2 separate regions of the Homo sapiens genome follow, and region 2 is linked to region 1. Evidence: promoter capture Hi-C in human tissues and cell types (Jung and others, 2019). All regions are on one chromosome and are shown on one strand. Each heading gives the region's core, a stretch centred on a gene start or on the middle of the fragment in contact. The rest is flanking DNA. Distances are from core to core; before and after follow the strand shown.

Region 1 (4,728 bases), core at 1,150-3,649:
GGCGCCTGTAGTCCCAGTTACTCCGGAGGCTGAGGCAGGAGAATGGCGTGAACCTGGGAGGCGGAGCTTGCAGTGAGCCGAGATCACGCCACTGCACTCCAGCCTGGGCGACAGAGTAAGACTCCGTCTCAAAAAAAAAAAAAAAAAAAAAAGATGGGTCCGGGTGCAATCTCTTATGCCTGTAATCCCAGCACTTTGGGGGGCTGAGGTGGACGGATTGCTTGAGGCCAGGAGATCGAGATCAGCCTGGTCAACATGGTGAAATCCTGTCTCTACCAAAAAAAAAAAAAAAAAAAAAGATTAAAATGCCAAATTACATATTTTACCACAATTAAAAATAAAAATAAATAAAGAAGTGGGGGTGGTAATGAAACATCTTCAACTACATTATTTTTACTAAGGACTTTTGGTATACTACAAATAATAAATATTTATATTATGTACTTCTTTCTTTTTTTTTTTTTTTCAGACGGAGTCTTGCTCTGTCGCCTAGGCCTGGAGTGCAGTGGTTCAATCTTGGCTCACTGCAACCTCCGCTCCCCGGGTTCAAGCGATTCTTTTGCCTCAGACTCCCGAGTAGCTGGGATTACAGATGCCCACCACCATTGCTCGGCTAATTTTTGTATTTTTAGTACAGACCCGGTTTCACCATGTTGGCCAGGCTGGTCTTGAACCCCTGACCTCAAGTGATCCACCCACCTCGGCCTCTCAAAGTGTTGGGATTACAGGTGTGAGCCATCACGCCCGGCCTACTTCATTTTTTAACGATTTTCTCCTTTTTGTAGTTCTCTTTTTGTATGTTTTATGATGGACATACTAATTTGATATAGCAGTTCACACAAATAATTCATAAATAACTACATATTAGTGCATTAGGTGTACATGCTGAGAATATTTTTACTGCTAAGAGTATGTGGCAAAAATGTCTGATGCTCACTGATCTAGAGGAACTTTCCCATGGTGGGCAAGGGGACCACCTAAGAATGTGAACTGGTGCACTGACTGGAAAACTAGGAACTAACCTCACCATCCATCGGCAGAGGAATGGATCAGCTGGAGCATATTAAAGCAACGGAATACTATGCAGTGATTTAAATGGATGGATAAGAGCTACATATATCAACATGGGTAAAGATATATATAAAATATATATAGATACATATATATTATATATATTTTTTTCTTTTTTTTTTTGAGATGGGGTTTCGCTTTTGTTGCCCAGGCTGGAGTGCAATGGCGCGATCTCGGCTAACCGCAACCTCCGCCTCCCGGGTTCAAGCGATTCTCCTGTCTCAGCCTCCCAAGTAGCTGGGATTACAGGCATGTGCCACCAAACCTGGCTAATTTTGCATTTTTAGTAGAGATGGGGTTTCTCCATGTTGGTCAGGCTTGTCCCGAACCCCTGACCTCAGGTGATCCGCCCGCCTTGGCCTCCCAAAGTGCTGGGATTACAGGCATGAGCCACCGTGCCCGGCCATATACACGTATATATTTTTTGAGACAGGGTCTTGCTCTGTCACCTAGGCTGGAGTGCAGTGGCGCAGTCTTGGCTCACTGCAACCTCCGCCTCCCAGGTTCAAGCTATTCTCCTGCCTCAGCCTCCTAAGTAGCTGGGATTACAGGCGTGCGTGACCACGCCCAGTTAATTTTTGTAGCTTTAGTAGAGATGGGGTTTCACCATGTTGGTGAGGCTTGTCTCAAACTCTTGACCTCAGCTGATCCACCCGCCTAGGCCTCCCAAAGTGCTGGGATTACAGGCATGAGCGACTGCGCCCGGCCCAACATGGGTAAATATTTTAAACAACCTTGAGTGAAAAAGCACATTGCAGAATGAAAAGTACAGCATGCACACCAATGTGATATATTATGGATACATCCATATGTTGTAATATGTATTATATATGTAGCAATGTGTACTATGTTTAAAAACATTCAAGAAGAAAATAAACACCAAATTCAGGAATAGTGGTTACATCTGGGGAGAGAGGGGAGAAAATGAGGTTGGAGAAAGGGCTTCAAATTTGCTTTCTTTTACAAAAAGATACAAAGTAAATAAATATAACAGTTCAAAACCAGTCTCCTTCAGTTCTCCTCCTCAGTGGACAACCATTCTCACATATCCCTGGTGTATCTTTCCAGAGATAGCCTATGCACATACAAGGACACATATGTACATGTATTCCCCTACCCTAACTTCTTTTTAAATAGTGATGGTGGCAAGCATTACATATTGTTGATCTGTACTTTTTAAACAATGTATCTCGAACTTTGATACATGTCAGTGCATAAAGAGCTTCTTTGTTCTTTTTTTTTTTTTTTTTTCGAGACGGAGTCTTGCTCTGTAGCCCAGGCTGGAGAGCAATGGCATGATCTCCTCTCACTGCAACCTCTGCCTCCTGGATTCAAGCGATTCTCCTGCCTCAGCCTCCCGAGTAGCTGGGATTACAGGTGCTTACCACCATGCCCAGCTAATTTTTGTATTTTTAGTTGGCCAGGCTGGTCTCGAACTCTTGACCTCAGGTGATCCACCTGCTTTGGCCTCCCAAAGTGCTGGGACTACAGGCACCAGCCACCGCGCCCGGCCTCTTTGTTCATTTTTTTTTTTTTTTTTACAGCTGTGCAATACTTCTTTGTGTGGCTACCAGAGTTTTTGAACCAGTCTCATATACATAAAATGTAGACTATTCTTTTACTACAAAAAGCTTCACTACAATGAATATCCTTAGAAAAATGTGATTCTACACAAATGCACAGTTTTATTTTTTAAAGACAGAGTTTTGTTCTGTTGTTCAGGCTAGAATGCAGTGGCATCATCATAGCTCATGTAAATTTGAGCTCCTGGGCTCAAGTGATCCTCTTGCCTCAACCTCCTGAGTAGGTAGGACAAAAGACATGCACCACCACTTTTTTTTTTTGTAGAGCTGGGGTCTCATTATGTTGACCAGGTTAGTCTCGAACTCCTGGCCTCAAGCAATCCTCCCTTGTCAGCCTCCCAAAGTACTGGGATTACAGGTGTAAGCCAGTGTGCCTGGCCATTATACAAAATATTAAATCAAAATTTTTTTCTTTTTTTGAGACAGAGTCTCACTCTGTTGCCCAGGCTGGAATGCAGTGGCATTATCTCAACTCACTGCAACCTCCGTGTCCCGAATTCGAGTGAATCTCCTGCCTCAGCTTCTCAAGTGGCCAAGTAGCTGGGACTATAGGCATGCATTACCACACCTGGCTAATTTTTATATTTTTAGTAGAGACAGGGTTTTGCCATGTTGGCTAGACTGGTCTTGAACTCCTGACCTCAGTGATCCACCCACCTTGGCCTCCCTAAGTGCGGGGATTACAGGCGTGAGCCACCGCGCCCAGCCAACCACGCCCAGTTTAAACCACGCCCAGTTTAAACAGGCACCACGCCCAGTTTAAACCAAAAATTTTAAAAATAATTAATACTTAACACTATTAAATCGTATACTTAAAAATAGTTAAGATGGCAAATTGTGTATTTTACCACAAGTAAAGATAAAAATAAATGAATAACTTATGAACAAATTCCCAGAAGCAGAAATGCTGGGTCTTTTCAAACAAACAGTCCTCCAACAAGACCAGATCCATTTACTTTCTGCTCTAACATTTTCCAATGTCTTTTACCCAAGCACAGTTCAATACAGCATATTATCAGACTTTTTTGATCTGAAAAGCGGACGTGGTATTTCACTGCAATCTTAATTTGCGTATTTTATTTTTTGTAAGCTTTCAATTTGTCGCTTATCCATTTATATAATTTTTTCTTTTTTTTTGTTGAGACAGAGTTTTGCCCTTGTTGCCCAGGTTGGAGTACAATGGCGTAATCTCAGCTCACTGTAACCTCCGCCTCCTGGTTTCAAGCAATTCTCCTGCCTCAGCCTCCCAAGTAACTGGGATTACATGCGCCTACCACCATAGCTGGCTAATTTTTTTGTTTTTTTTGTTTTTTTTTGAGATGGAGTCTCACTCTGTTGCCCAGGCTGGAGAGCAGTGGTCAGATCTCGGCTCACTGCAAGCTCTGCCTCCCGGATTCGCGCCATTCTCCTGCTTCAGCCTCCCTAGTAGCTGGGACTATAGGCGCCCGCAACCACACCCAGTTAATTTTTTTTTGTATTTTTAGTAGAGACGGGGTTTCACCTATTATCCAGGATGGTCTCGATCTCCTGACCTCGTGATCTGCCCGCCTCGGCCTCCCAAAGTGCTGGGATTACAGGTGTGAGCCACCGCGCAGGGCCATTTTTTTGTATTTTTTTAGTAGAGATGGGGTTTCACCAGTTGGCCAGGCTGGTCTCGAACTCCCGACCTCAGTTGATCTACCCGCGTTGGCCTTCCAAAGTGCTGGGATTACAGGCGTGAGCCACCGTGCTTGGCCTTATATAATATTTTTTAAAGCATGAGCTATGTTACTTTTGTAGTAAAATAGCCATTGAGGATATTCTTAAAATTTAGGGTCTGGAGAACCTTGATTCAGTTTTTGAGAAGCTTGTTGATGCTTTCAAAAAACCTTATTGCATTATGGCCAGGAGCAGTGTCTCATGCCTGTAATCCCAGCGCTTTGGGATGCCGAAGCAGGTGCATCACCTGAGATCAGCAGTTTGAGACCAGCTTGGCCAACATGGCAAAACCCTATCTCTACTAAAAATAGGAAAAAAATTAGCCGGGTGTGGTGCTGGGTGCCTGTAATCCCAGCTACATGGAAGGGTGAGGCAG
Region 2 (4,728 bases), core at 1,005-3,504, 150 kb before region 1:
CACGAAACACTTTCACATGTATTGTGTATCTGAGAAACCTCACAGCAGCCTGCAAGGTAGGCAGGCCAGGGGTGGTTATTGTCATGTTACACATCAGGAAACTGAGGCTCAGTGAGAAAGATTTGTCCACTGTCACACAGTTAGCAAGTGGCTGTCTGCTTTTTAATCTCAAGAGGAAGAGAAATTCAACATCTGTTCTGTTGCATGATTTTTCTCACCCCTAGGGCAAACTGTCATGAGACACTGTCCCCACAGGCCTGGGACAGGAGCCTAAACAGGGAAGATGGCTCAGTATAGGGGCTTCACCAAGCATGTGATGTGGAGCCCAGAACAGGAGAACTTAATTCACAGTCCTTTTTTTTTTTTTTTTTTTTTTTTGAGACAGAGTCTCACTCTGTCACCCGGGCTGGAGTGCAGTGGCGGATCTCAGCCCACTGTAGCCTCCGCCTCCCAGGTTCAAGCAATTCTCCTGCCGAAGCCTCCAGAGTAGCTGGGACTAAAGGCACCTGCCGCCACGCCCAGCTAATTTTTGTATTTTTAGTAGATATGGGGTTTCACCATGTTGGCCAGGATGGTCTCTCTCTCCAGACCTCATGATCTGCCCGCCTTGGCCTCCCAAAGTGTTGAGATTACAGGCGTGAACCACCGCGCCCAGCCAAGCACAGTCCTTTTAATTGTTGGGACTTAAAGACCTACAAACTGCATAATCGGTTTTGCCCTCATTCTGCGACCCCACAAAGCTACTCACCTAGCATGATTGCACCCACTGCACAGGCCTGCGCTGCCACTCGGGTGTGAATCAGGTGTATGGACATCTTGGTGGAACCACGAGACCTCAGCCGGTAAATCCTGTATGCTGCTACCACCAAGCAGCCTCCTAAGCCTGTGGGCAGAGAACACAGCCCCTGGGCCACAGCCACAATGCACAGCACTCCCCTGATGAGAGATACCTTACCAGGCAGGCTGGGCATCTGGATAAACAGCTGGTTTTATGCAGCATCTGGTGGCGGGGGGTGGGCGTTGCGGGGGACCTAGGGGGATCATTAGAATATTGAGTTGTTGCCGGGGCATGGTGGCTCACGCCTGTAATCCCAGCACTTTTGGGAGACTGAGGCAGGTGGATCACCTGAAGTTGGGAGTTTGAGACCAGCCTGACCAAAATGGAGAAACCCAGTCTCTACTAAAAGTACAAAATTAGCCGGGCGTGGTGGTGCATGCCTATAATCCCAACTACTCAGGAGGCTGATGCAGGAGAACCACTTGAACCCAGGAGGCAGGGGTTGTGGTGAACCGAGACTGTGCCATTGCACTCCAGCCTGGGCAACGAGTGAAACTCCATCTCAAAAATATATATATATATATTGAGTTGTTGCCCTTCAATGGCATTTTCAAAGTGGCTGCCTCCCTCCCGTGACACCCCTCCCCCATATACAAATAGCTGATCACCACCAGTGATGCCCCTCCCCCAGATACAAATAGCTGATCACCACGACACAGCCCCTCCCCACCAATTTGCTCCGCCCTGGGCCCTTGAGCCACACTGCTGGCTCCCACCTCCTGGTACAGCTGTTTTCCTACTCTACCAGGGCCATAAGGAAGGAAGCCCTGGGGGACCCCAAGGTGTTCTTCTGACCCTTCCCACTTTGGTGTTGGTGCTCCAGGTTCCTCATATCCCATGTACTCAGTTGGCTGCCACCTCCACCCATCCAGACGTCCTGATTTCATTGTAAGGGTTTGCCCCTTGGCACCTTTGCTGTTGTTTCCCTTGTTCCGTGAGTAGGACCACTTGAGTTTTCTGACCTCTGCTTCATTCTCTTTGGAGGGTACCAGGAGACATGACAGAGAAGGCCTCCTACTCGGCACCCCATTCCTTTCTTCACTTACCTATAGGCACCAGTGGAGATTCCCGAGTCTTCCTCAGGAGCTTCTCAGACACACAGTCTTCGTCGTCAGGTGGTACCCACCAGCGTCTGTTAGCAGACATAATCCTGGACCTGGATGTAAGCAGCTGAGACTCCTATGCTGCAGCCCCGTCCTAGAGAGAGGCACTCCACAATCAGAACTCTGATTCCTCAGTCTGGAGAGGAAAGGAAGGTTACCTGCTAAGACCCTCTCTCACCATGCCCCAACACAGCCTCTACTTGAAAAGATGTCCCTCCCAGGTATCCCATCTCAGGTGGCTGGGCCATTAGTGCCATTTCTCCGTCTCCATTTCCTACCATCTGCCTCTTCCCCAGCTCATTCTGTCTTCACTGCTTTCTCAGCTTCCCCTTCCCCCATCTGCATCCCTATGGGTGTGATCCTTGGGCCAAGAAAAACAGCTGGAAAAGTCCACAGATGGTGGTGGGAGAAACAGTCCTTGAGTGCTGGGGCCCCCGCTGGCCTTTGGTCTGTGATGGTTTCTCCTGTGGGAGCTACAGAGCAGGATCTGGCCCCAGGGAGCCAGAAATGTCCTAGACCAGATAGTGTAACAGCATTAGTTACCAAATTGCCAGAGATTATAATGATTGGACATTGATTTGCATGTAATTTAGCATATATTTTGCACATGAGTACTAAGGAACACATTCTGGTTCCTGAGCTGCTCCTGTTTTTCCAGGTCCATCTCTTTCCAGGCAGGTTCTTCACAATTACCAACTGGCTACCTTCATCCCTGGGCTGGAAACAAGGGTTCTGCCAATGGGATGCCTTCTTTTTGAGACGGAGTCTCGCTCTGTCGCCCAGGCCGGACTGCGGACTGCAGTGGCGCAATCTCGGCTCACTGCAAGCTCCGCTTCCCGGGTTCACGCCATTCTCCTGCCTCAGCCTCCCGAGTAGCTGGGACTACAGGCGCCCGCCACCGCGCCCGGCTAATTTTTTGTATTTTTAGTAGAGACGGGGTTTCACCTTGTTAGCCAGGATGGTCTCGATCTCCTGACCTCATGATCCACCTGCCTCGGCCTCCCAAAGTGCTGGGATTACAGGCGTGAGCCACCGCGCCCGGCCCTTTTTTGTTTTTTTGAGACGGAGTTTCGCTCTGTAGCCCAGGCTGGAGTGCAGTGGTGCCATCTCGGCTCACTGCAACCTCCGCCTCCCAGGTCCTGGTTGAAGCAATTCTGCCTCAGCCTCCCAAGTAGCTGGGATTACAGGTGTGTACCATGCCCAGCTAATTTTTTGTATTTTTTTAGTAGAGACGGGGTCTTACCCTGATAGCCAGGCTGGTCTTGAACTCCTGACCTCTTGATCCGCCCACCTCGGCTTCCCAAAGTGCAGGGATTACAGGTATGAGCCACCGTGCCCTGTCCAATGGGATACCTTCTAAGCCTAACCATACGGCAAACTCTCTTTTCTTTTTCTTCTTTTTTTTTTTTTTTAGGCAGGGTCTCACTTTGTCACTCAGGCTGGAGTGCAGTGTCAATCCCTGCAAGCTTGACCCTCCAGACTCAAGCAGTCCTTCCACCTCAGCCTCTCAAGTAGCTGGGACTACAGGTGCATGCTACCACGCTCAGCTAATTTTTGTATTTTTTGTAGAGACAGTTTTGCCATGTCGCCCAGCCAATCTTGAACTCCTGGTCTCAGGCGATCTGCCCACCTCAGCCTCCCAAAGTTCTGGGATTACAGGCATGAACCACTGTGCCTGCCCTTGAGTCAGCTTCTATCCTAGTTAGCCCTCCTCTCCTGGAGGAGCAAGGACTGGTGGCCCCCCAGGTCGTTGGCATGCTGGTGCTTACCCTAAGAGATGGCTAGAACGAGGAGAACGGGCGGCCAGGCCAGGGCTCAGCGTCTGCTGTTTTGAACCGACCAAAAGCTGAGATGGAGCTGCCACTATGGGGTCAGGGAAGCAGTGACTTGGGCTTTATGAAAACTTTGAAGTCAGGGATGGAGAGGGGAGGGGAAAGGACAGGGGATCGGTCTTAACCCCCAGTCTGCTGAGTCCCAAGCCAAAGCTCCAGGCACTGGAAAGTAAGGAAAGACCAAATGGAGGGGAGCCCCTAACTAGATTCAGTCTTTTAATTCCCATGGAATTAAGTGGCTGGATCAGAGACAGGCTTGATGAGGAGAACGGAGATGGAGATACAGGAACAAGGATGAGTAGAAAGCCTGGGTCCCCCAAGTTACACTCCCTCGGATACTCTTATGAACAATGTGGGATGTAAATAAAATACCCTAGTTGTGAGAGACAGACTCTCTAGGCTGTCTTTTGGTTTGGGATTTTTTTTTTTTTCCGAGATGGAGTCTTGCTCTGTCACCTAGGCTGGAGTGCAGTGGCACGATCTCGGCTCACTGTAACCTCCGCTCCCAGGTTCAAGTGATTCTCCTGCCTCAGCCTCCCGAGTAGCTGGGATTACAGGCATGTGCCACCATACCCAGCTAATTTTTTTATTTTTAGTAGAGGCGGGGTTTCACCATGTTGGCCGGGCTGGTCTCGAAATCCTGACCTTGTGATCCACCCGGCTCAGCCTCCCAAAGTGCTGGGATTACAAGCATGAGCCACCACACCCAGCTAGTTTTTGGGGTTTTTTGTTTTGTTTTGTTTTTGAGATGGGGTCTCCCTCTGTCACCCAGGCTGTGTGATCTTGGCTCACTGCAGCCTCATACTCCCAGGCTCAAGCAACCCTCCCATCTCAGCCTCCTAAATAGCTGGGACCACGGGCACATACCACCACACTTGGCTCATTTTTGTATTTTTGGTAGAGACAGTTTTACCATGTTACCCTGGCTGGTCTCAGAACTGGCCTCCCAAAGTAC

What was found. Contacts are between HindIII fragments. The study calls those that stand out against the background at their distance.
Region 2: a contact is called between the fragment with the promoter of HIGD1B here and a fragment that was not itself captured in region 1, in 1 of the 25 tissues and cell types used here (aorta).

Annotation. Positions count from the first base shown.
Region 1 is chr17:44,692,404-44,697,131 of GRCh38, reverse strand. No RefSeq gene overlaps it. Among named protein-coding and RNA genes, the nearest start is that of CCDC43, 5.0 kb to the right of the region's middle. The HindIII fragment of the contact is 6,435 bases long and covers 1-4,728 here.
Region 2 is chr17:44,845,409-44,850,136 of GRCh38, reverse strand. It overlaps HIGD1B (HIG1 hypoxia inducible domain family member 1B), which reads right to left and starts at 2,254. Exons shown (of 3, transcript NM_016438.4): 1 at 1,885-2,254; 2 at 749-883. The coding sequence starts at 1,984. EFTUD2 (elongation factor Tu GTP binding domain containing 2) reads left to right here. Exons shown (of 28, transcript NM_004247.4): 28 at 1-189. The HindIII fragment of the contact is 5,766 bases long and covers 520-4,728 here.